Linked DNA regions of Homo sapiens: all the other regions are linked to region 1. The links are contacts of gene promoters, found by promoter capture Hi-C in human tissues and cell types (Jung and others, 2019). All regions are on one chromosome and are shown on one strand. The core of a region is centred on a gene start or on the middle of the fragment in contact, and the rest is flanking DNA. Distances in the headings are between cores, read along the strand shown.

Region 1 (3,006 bases), core at 280-2,779:
GAGGGGATCCCCGTACATTTCCAGCGGGCTCAGACACAGGGTCCCCCACAAGAAAGAAACAGGACAGAAAAAGTCAGGACACGTATGCTGTGGAGAGTCGAGGTCTCGCCTAGATCTTGGGTGTGGGTAGACGCAGCCGCTGGCAGTTTTCCTTTCCAGCGTCTCTGGGGAGCCTGGAGATGTCCTTGGTGCCGATGTGACACGAAGAGTGATTGCGCCGCCCTGCAGAGGCGGTGGCGGGACGCTGCGCTCGGGCTGGGAAAGGCCGGCCCCAGGGCGACCCCTCCGGAGGCCCCCGGAGAGCAGGTGTGCACCTCGCCTCCCGCTGGGCAGCCAGTTCAGGAGAAAAATGTGAAGCTTTTAGCTAAACAAAATATTTCTTTCGTTAAGGGCTTTCTCCACACGGAGACTTTCTAGCCACGTGAGACTTTGACCTCCCAGTCCCCCAGATTCAGCGCTGGGACCGAGCGTCTGCTGTTATTTTTAGTAGAAGTATAAAAAGAATCTCGAAAAGTTTTAGCTCTGGAGAAGGCGTGAATACAGCTGGTGCCTTCATACACTCCACTTGAGCCGCTCTTTAAGAACTCCAGGAGATCAGAAAGCAATACGAAAGCCAGAGCATTGCACATGGGATGGGCTGGCGGGTGGCCTTTGGGTCCCTATCTTATGGACGATTTTTGTAAATGGGGCATTGGAGATGAGTATCACCTGGATCACATTTTTAGGTTGAATTCCTCCGTGGGGGGAACTTTAGCAATACGCATCCAAATAAGAATGTAGATTGCAATAATTGTAGTAAAGTGTTTGCCAGACTCATCTCAGAAAAAGACATTATCAAAAGGCATTTATTATCTTCCTAATGCGTGTCTGGCACTGGGCAGACACTGTAGAATACTATCTTGATTAGAGTCTCAAGGATTTTGTACTTAAAGTCCTTTACAAATAAAAGTATTCAAGTATAATCTATTATAAAGACTCTTTTCTCCACTTTGGGGATATACGGTGTGGCATCGATTCATTGGTCATACCAAAACTGTTACTTCTGTTTTGGAGGAATTAACAAGGAAAACCCAGGCTTAGTAAATCAACATCGAAGTTCAGAAGTTCAGAGTAATTTGTCTTGGGAACAAAGTCCTCCCTAGAGCGAAGAGGCATTCACAGGAGCTCTTGGTGTTAATGGGATTATTCAAGATATACCTGAGACCAGATAAATATTTGATGATTTTGCCAAGCACTAGGGTTTCTTTGCAGTTTGTCTTTGGCTGACGTTTTCCCCCCGTGGGGTTTGGACTTTGTGGCTTCACCAGATTTTGCAAATGAAAGAAGGCTGGGGTTTCCCAAGAGTACACTTGTGCAGGAAACAACAGACTAGTGAGGTTTACAAGAGGGGGGTGTGTGTGTGTGTGTGTCTGCCTGTGGGATGGGGGTGGCACGGGGGAGAGAGAGATGTGGGTTACAAAGCTGCCATCTAGAGGCTAGAGGCTCCTTTCTGCAGTGTATATAATGCAAGTCTGCAGCCAGCAGAGCTCACAGTTGTTGCAAAGTGCTCAGCACTAAGGGAGCCAGCGCACAGCACAGCCAGGAAGGCGAGCGAGCCCAGCCAGCCCAGCCAGCCCAGCCAGCCCGGAGGTAAGGAAACGGTGCTCGGGCAGCAGCTCTGCTCGGAAAGAAGGCACGGCTTCTGCTCTTAAGCCAAGTGGTCTTTTCAAAGGCCTTCTTTAAAATCGCTCAGATGGGTGCTTTTGAGTCTGCGGGTCTGGTTTCTGAAAACCCAGGCTGCACGCAGCTGCATTGCAAAGTGCTTTTGCTAATTCGGAGGGCTTCACCTTTCTCTTCAGAAAGCAAAGGGCAGTTTTCTTAAGTCACTTGCAGAAGGAAATTTCCATGTGTATTTAGGAATCTGGTGTTTATTTGCTGTGTGGCTATTTAAGCTCCAGTAAGCAGGGGAACTTTGCAAGAACACAGACTATCCATTCTGCCTGACCAATTTGGCATGGGGATTAGCTTGGCACCCACTGTTTACCTGTTTTGCTTCTAGTATATCAGTTTGGAAACAGATAAAATTGGCAGTAAATACGTAATTCCAGAATGATGAACACTTTATTAAGAGGCATCCTTAAATGGAGCAGAAAACTGCTGAGAATCTTTGTGAGTCCAAGATGTATTTGAATTCAGTACTTTGGGGGATTTACCAGAGTCTGTAAGTCCGGAAGCTATAAACGTGAATGTTAAACACAGCCCGGTCTTCTCTTCTCTTGATGGCACGCTTGCTAATCTAATTTGAGTATTGTTCTCTTAGAAGGTGTTAAGTCCAACTTCAATTGGGGTTGGGGGAAGCACACACACAAATCTACTATTTTGCAATTTAAATATACTCTTCAGGTAAAATGTGGATTTTGTTCAATTTTGTTGGCATGTGCAAAGATTCAAGGAGTGACTGAGAGAACTTTGGAGTGAGGTCAGGGATGGGTGGTTAGCCAAGACTTGTAACTTCCAGGGAGAATGAGAAGTTGTAAAAGTCAGACTGGCTGTCTCTCTTTCTCTCTTCCTCTTTCTTTCTTTCTTTCTTTCCTTTTGCTCACAACAGGATTACTTAGTGTTTCAAAAGTGGGAGAGAGCCTCCTTAAATGGTTTACAGCCCTTTGAATGTATTTGGTGCAGTGACATCCCCTGAAACTTCAGTCTGCAAAGTCTCAACATGGTAACTTTGTTCTTTTCTTTTTTAAAGGCAGATGCTGCTTTTAGTGTCCCTTTATTTATTCCAGGAAAAATGTGGACATCAGCTAGGCACGCCTAGCAAAGAAAGTGGAGGCTGCTGGTTTCTGTGCTTTAACTTTCCATAGATTTTAAATGGATAAACTGCTTGCCCTTCTTTCATCAGAATATGAGCTTTCCCCAGATGGAAAGTCTTTTCTAAAGCAAAGTTGCACATGGGAGCTCTAGCTTGGAAACAATTTGCTCTTTTTTCCCCAGTCTCTGCCATAAACACTTGAATGTGCACACAAC
Region 2 (3,071 bases), core at 326-2,825, 94 kb after region 1:
ATCTGAAGGGTTCTAAGCGATTCTATTTCATTTCATTTAAACATTGGCTCCTTTATTTCCTCCCTCTTCTCACCAGCTAAAATTACAGGAGACCACCATTTTCGGGTGGAAAGAACATTTTGTGAAGTTCATTTGCTAAGCTTCTGCTATGAACCCACTTGGCCAAAGAGGGAAATCCTCCAGGAATTCAGTTTCACCAACCCTTCCCTCCACCCCGGGCTGCCGCTCTTCCTGCTGCTTTCATTTTAAGGGGACTGGGCATTTTTGCAATTTTGTCTTGACCATCATCATCTTTTTATTACTCATGGGGAACTTTCAAAACACCAGCTCCTTTTTTAAAAGTAGTTTTGTGTTCTTAGTGGTTTCACAATCTGAACTGAGCTGATGATTTGAGAAAATGTGGGCAGTTCATGGAATCATGAATGGTTAGAACCTTTCAGTTGAAGGGGACCCTAATCAAACATTCTACCCCAGTGGTTCTCAGTCAGGAGGGACTCTGTTCCCCAAGGGACACTTGGCAATGTCTGGAAACATTTTTGTCACTGCGGGGAGGGGGTTGCTACTGGTATCTGGTGGGTAGAGGCCAGGGTGGCTGCTAAACATCCTACAGTGCACAGGACCACCTCGCAGAACAAATAATTCTCTGGGTGAAAAGATCCATAGAGCTAAGTTTGAGAAACTCTGATCTACCCCAAAATTGAAGCCCTTCCAGCATCAGAGTGGACAGCTCCAGGGAAAGAGCAGCTCAAGAAACTACTCATGGGAGCAGCAGCCCTAAACTGGGGTCGACCCACAACGTGATGAGTGGGTGGCGAACTGTCAGGGCGGCAAGGGACAGGAGACCCACGAAAATTCATTTGGGGAAAGGGAAGACTTGGATGCCCAGCAGTCATCTTCTATGCTTCACTGGGCATAAACATATTCATTCAGACATTAGGTTTGATCGGTATGATTCCAGAGGGCAGGTTTAGAAATGTTGGGGGGAAGCTATGGGGAGGTTGAATTTGGCTTGGTGCGGAAGCACTCATACAGTCTCACCTAGTGAAATTTCATAAGCTCCGCTGTGTTGGCTCTTGGTGAGTTCACAGTTAAGAAAATCTTGAGGTTTCATTCATGCACTTTATTTAATTCCGTCTCCAGCCTCCTGCTTAATCCTGTTCTTATGCAGTTGATTTTTTGGCACGAGTGAAGTTCACGCTGGGCTGGAGGGAGAAGTGGGGAGAGTGAGGGATGAAATTCCAGGAGCAGGCCTGTTAGACTCTTCAAGTCCACGAACGCAGCCTCCCTGGCTCTCCTCCCAGTTGGATTGGCTTTACGGTCCTGTCAGTGGGACAGGCTATCTTGGCCAAACATGTGAATCTCCCTGAATGGGAAAAAGAAAAGGCAGAACATTAACTTAAAGTTTAGGATGCATGTGGGGAATGAAGGTGTGTGGATGGCTTATAGGATATCACTTGCTCTCCCAGAAACTCTGGACTGCCCTGCAGTAAAAACACCAAACCTCCTGCGCTGGGCTGAGAAGGGGCTTGAGCGTCGCCTGGGAAAATCTTTGACAGGCTGCCCAAACCGCAGCCCTAATCACTGAGGCACGTGGCTGACATTTTAGCAAGCTCACTTGGACTCGGAGCTTTCACAGAATGGAGACAAGGGAATAATTTCACTTTGGAGGACTGCACTTCTTTCCTTTACACCTCCCACTCCATCCTTCTTGTTAGCAAATACCCTGGGTGGGCAGATGTCACAGGAGCCGGCGGGGATGCTGGTTTGCATGGCAGCATCCCGCGGCGGAATACCAATGGCACAGCTCATGCTCTTTACTGAGGGGGTGGGACTCTGGAATTTTGGCATGATTGTAGTTGTTGCTGTAATCATGTTTTACATTAACAATGTTTCTTTCATCCAGATGGATTCTTAAGCGCTCGACAAACTTTATTAAGTAATTACAACAAGTTATAGACATTTAATTTGTCTATCATTAGGCACAGTTTCTGGGTGAATCATGGGATTTTTTTTGTTTTGTTTGGCCACACACAGAAACAGGATATTGATAGGGGACAGAGTAGACCTAGGGCTGTCAACTGGGCTTGGAAGAAGCCTGTCCTTGGTCTGAATTGGAAAAGGCACTAAGGCAACAGCCTCCCGGTGCAATCGTGTGAGTGAAGATCGGTGCAATCATGCGAGTGAAGATCACGGCAAACTTGACAATGGAGAAGAGGATACAGAAGCATTTCACACATCCCTGGGTTATTATTATTATTATTATTATTTCTAAATGGTCTACAAAACCATATGGAATCTCAATTTAAATACAGGAAAAGGCCGGGCATGGTGGCTCACACCTGTAATCCCAGCACTTTGGAAGGCCAAGGTGGGCAGATCACCTGAGGTCAGGAGTTTGAGACCATCCTGGCCAACGTGGTGAACTCCCATCTCTACTAAAATACAAAAATGAGCCGGGCGTGATGGTGGGCACCTGTAATCCCAGCTACTTGGGAGGCCGAGGCAGGAGAATCGCTTGAACCTGGGAGGTGGAGGTTGTAGTGAGTGGAGATGGCACCACTGCACTCTGGCCTGGGCGACAAAAACAAAACAAAACGAAACAAAACAAAACATACAAACAAAACAACCAACCAAACAAAAAAACCAACAGGAAAAAAAGCACAGGACAGCCCATGGGTCTGGAAGGCAGAGGCTCAAGGAGTCCTAGTGCAAAAGGGGCTTCCAGGACCACTCAGGTGGGAGCCTTTCAACCTGTGCCTCCTCTGAGGGCAGCTCAGGGGTTCTACAGCAGGAGGGAGGTGATGGGTCACCAGGAGGCAGGGCTCTTGGTCCCCGACATCTCCTTCTGACTGGTTTCACATACTGCATTTTACTCAAGATTTCTGCTGAAGAAAGGGTACCACTGCTAAAGAAAAGAAAAATAAAATGTGCAAACCTGACTGGTCCAGTTCCTGATATTATATGCGATGACCAGAGAGGTTATGCAGGTAGTCTGGGGTCACATAGCTAATAATTGGCCAAATTGAAGTGGGACCACGCTCTTTGTACAGCCAGCCTGAGGTGCCACCAAA
Region 3 (3,064 bases), core at 324-2,823, 100 kb before region 1:
GGAAAGGTGAGCAGGATGAAAGTGATATCCCATCACTCTAGCCGTATCCTTGTCTTTGGAAGTGTTACTAGGTATAGCTCACACTTCAGGGGAGGGATCACTGGAGGCCAGCTTAGAGGCTGCCTGCCACAGATATCTTTTAATAGAATCTTTTTGAGAGAAAGTTTGATTTTTCTATTGCCAACATTTAAATTCTCTGGTCCTAACCACAGTTGGCGTCAGAGCATCTTGAGACCTGAAGTGATATGATGCAATACCCCATCAAGAAAACAGATGGGCAAGCTTGCCTTCTATGGCTCCTGGGACTGATCATAACAATCTGCCCTCTTTTCTTCCCTTCTTGAAATAAAATTGATTTAAAATCTCTTCTAATTAGGTTACCATCAAAGTGTTCTGCTGTGTAGAAAAATTCTCTGATGAATACCTTTTACAAACCATCTTTTGTAAACAAGTTTTAACTCATTTAACATTTCATTTAAGAACATTAAAGAACACCCTTAAATATGAATACGCCTGGAGCCTTGTCTCCAAAACTACCTATCTACCCATCTGATAAAGTTTGGATGCCCCCTCCAAATCTCATGTTGAAATGTGATCCCCAGTGTTGGAGGTGGAGCCTGGTGGGAGGTGTCTGGGTCATGGGGGTGGATCCCTCATGGCCTGGTGCTGTCCTTGCTATAGTGAGTGAGTTCTTGCAAGATCTGGTTGTTTAAAAGTATGTGGCACCACCCCCTGCCGCCAACCCCGCACTCTCTCTTTGGCTCTTGCTCTTGCCATTTGACGTGCCTTCTCCTGCATCACCTTCTGCCGTGAGTTGAGTTAAAGCTCCCTGAGGCAAACAGGAGCAGATACCAGCATCATGCTTCCTGTAAAGCTTGTAGAGCCTTGAGCCAATTAAGTTTCTTTTCCTTAGAAATTATCCAGCCTCAGATATTTCTTTATAGCAATGCAAGAACCACCTAACACACCATCATTCAAGGAGACCTGGTGGCCAGGTGTCTAGTCCCAGGAATCAGCAGCTGCCTCAAAGGATTATGACCGAGAGGGACCATGATTGAGAATCTCAAGCTTCTTACAAGTAGAGAGGCTGGCTAGATGCCAGAAGGGAAGGTTATTTCTGGGTCCCCTGACTTTTGGACAGACCTGGCCTGTGAAGTCCTGCCATCCTTGGGCTATGTCATGCACCCATTATATTCCAAGCCATGTGGTCACATAGGCACTATGTGGGCCGTTTTTCCATATTTAAAAAAATTAATTTCTGAATTCTTAGCCTTGGCATTTCACGTTTCTAAAACGAAGCCGAGAAACCTCATGACTCTATATCAATATGCTTCTGTGCTTAAAAACATACAATAACCTCAGCCACTAAAGAACAGACTGGATATGTCACGATGTAGCTCATGTTCACCTGCATTCGATGAACCAATGCCGGATCTGGTCTTGAAGGTTCTCCTTGATATCCACGCCTTCTATCAACTTTAGGTCATTCTTGATGGTAACCAGGGCTTCCCTGTAGTCCTCTTCATGCTTTATCTGCACCTCATTCCGCAGGCGGTCCACCTTTTCAGCCTGGATTACTGTAGCACTGACTTCATTAAAGAGAGGAGGTGGATTCTGAAAATATATACAAGCAACAAGGTTTGAGGTCATAAAAGTTACAGAGTTGGTAAAAATATCAGAAACTGAACAAATGTGTTAATATCTTCCATAGTGTCTAGCAAAGGCAAATAAGAAATACAAGCATCCAGAGGAAGCAAAGCTAACTGAGTGCATTTACTCAGTGTATTTAATCCAAAGTCCCTGACATAATGCTTTATGTTCTTTTGTTTTGAAGTTTTCAGCTTCAGTATGTTTGAGGTTTCTCTCCTGTCAACAACATAGATCTGGATTAAAAAAACTCAATCTGAGAATTATAGAAAAGAAAAATTTTATTCATTGTACAGAAGAAACATTTGGAGATAATCTTCTCAAGTTTTTTATCTAACACACTTTCTTGTTTTTTTTTTCTTCCTTTCCTACCTTCTGTTGGATTTATGTAGTTTTGTTCATTCTTGTCATGCAGTGGTTTAAAAATTATACATCTTATTTTAATCTTCTACTGGTTATCTTAAAATTTTAACATGTTACTTAACATCTACATTTCTATCTGTCTAGAATTTATCATAATCTAGAGCTTCTTTGAACAAGTATAGGACCTACGCATGTGTTCACTTTTCTTCCCACAACCTCTCGTTTTATAATATCATAGACTGCAATTAATTTTGAAAAGCAAGATATGTTTACATTTAATTATGAGATGTTCTGGTTTCTCTGTTTACCCTTTGCATTAGTCCATTTTTGCACTGCCGTAAAAGAATACTGGAGGGTGGGTAATTTATAAGGAAAAGAAGTTTATTTTGGCTCACAGTTCTGCAGGCTGTATGAGAAGCATGGTGCCAGCATCTGCTTGGCTTCTGGCGAGGCCTCAGGAAGCTTACAATCATGATGGAAGGTGACAGGGAGCCAGTGTCTCACGTGGTGAAAGGGAGCAAGAGATAAAGAAGGGGAGGTCCCAGACTTGTATAAACAACCAGATCTTGTGTGAACTGAGAGAATTCACTCATCACCAAGGGGATGGTGCTAAGCCATTCATGAGAGATCTGCCCCCAAGATCCATCACCTCCCACTAGGCTCCACCTCCAACACTGGGAATCACATTTCAGCATGAGATTTGGAGGGGACAAACATCCAAACCATATAACCCTTTTCTTCTTTTTTGTATTCAGTTTTCATTTTGCTGAAGTATGTCCTTGAGTGTAACTTTCAGAATGAATATGTACAGCCATAAATATTATAAGGACTAGCATTTCTAAAGATGTCTTCATTTGGCCCCTCCCACTTGAATGGCATTTTGGTAGTTCCCTTGAGGAATTCTACTTCTAATATGTAGAGTTTCCAGTTCCTTTTTTGCAAATTTAATTGTTGTTCCTTTGCAAATAAGCTGTTTCCTCCCTGAAAGTGTTTATAATGCTTTACTCTCAAGAGTTTTGAAAGTCCATCAAAATGTATGTAGGTGTAGGCATTT

What was found. Contacts are between HindIII fragments. The study calls those that stand out against the background at their distance.
Region 2: a contact is called between a fragment that was not itself captured here and the fragment with the promoter of ACKR3 in region 1, in 2 of the 25 tissues and cell types used here (pancreas and spleen).
Region 3: a contact is called between a fragment that was not itself captured here and the fragment with the promoter of ACKR3 in region 1, in 2 of the 25 tissues and cell types used here (dorsolateral prefrontal cortex and mesenchymal stem cells).

Annotation. Positions count from the first base shown.
Region 1 is chr2:236,568,296-236,571,301 of GRCh38, forward strand. ACKR3 (atypical chemokine receptor 3) reads left to right here and starts at 1,530. Exons shown (of 2, transcript NM_020311.3): 1 at 1,530-1,629. RefSeq lists an enhancer at 1-766. The HindIII fragment of the contact is 7,550 bases long and covers 1-3,006 here.
Region 2 is chr2:236,662,192-236,665,262 of GRCh38, forward strand. No RefSeq gene overlaps it. Among named protein-coding and RNA genes, the nearest start is that of ACKR3, 94 kb to the left of the region's middle. The HindIII fragment of the contact is 7,362 bases long and covers 1-3,071 here.
Region 3 is chr2:236,464,097-236,467,160 of GRCh38, forward strand. It overlaps DRC11 (dynein regulatory complex subunit 11), which reads right to left. Exons shown (of 19, transcript NM_024726.5): 6 at 1,409-1,614. Among named protein-coding and RNA genes, the nearest start is that of DRC11, 42 kb to the right of the region's middle. The HindIII fragment of the contact is 5,182 bases long and covers 1-3,064 here.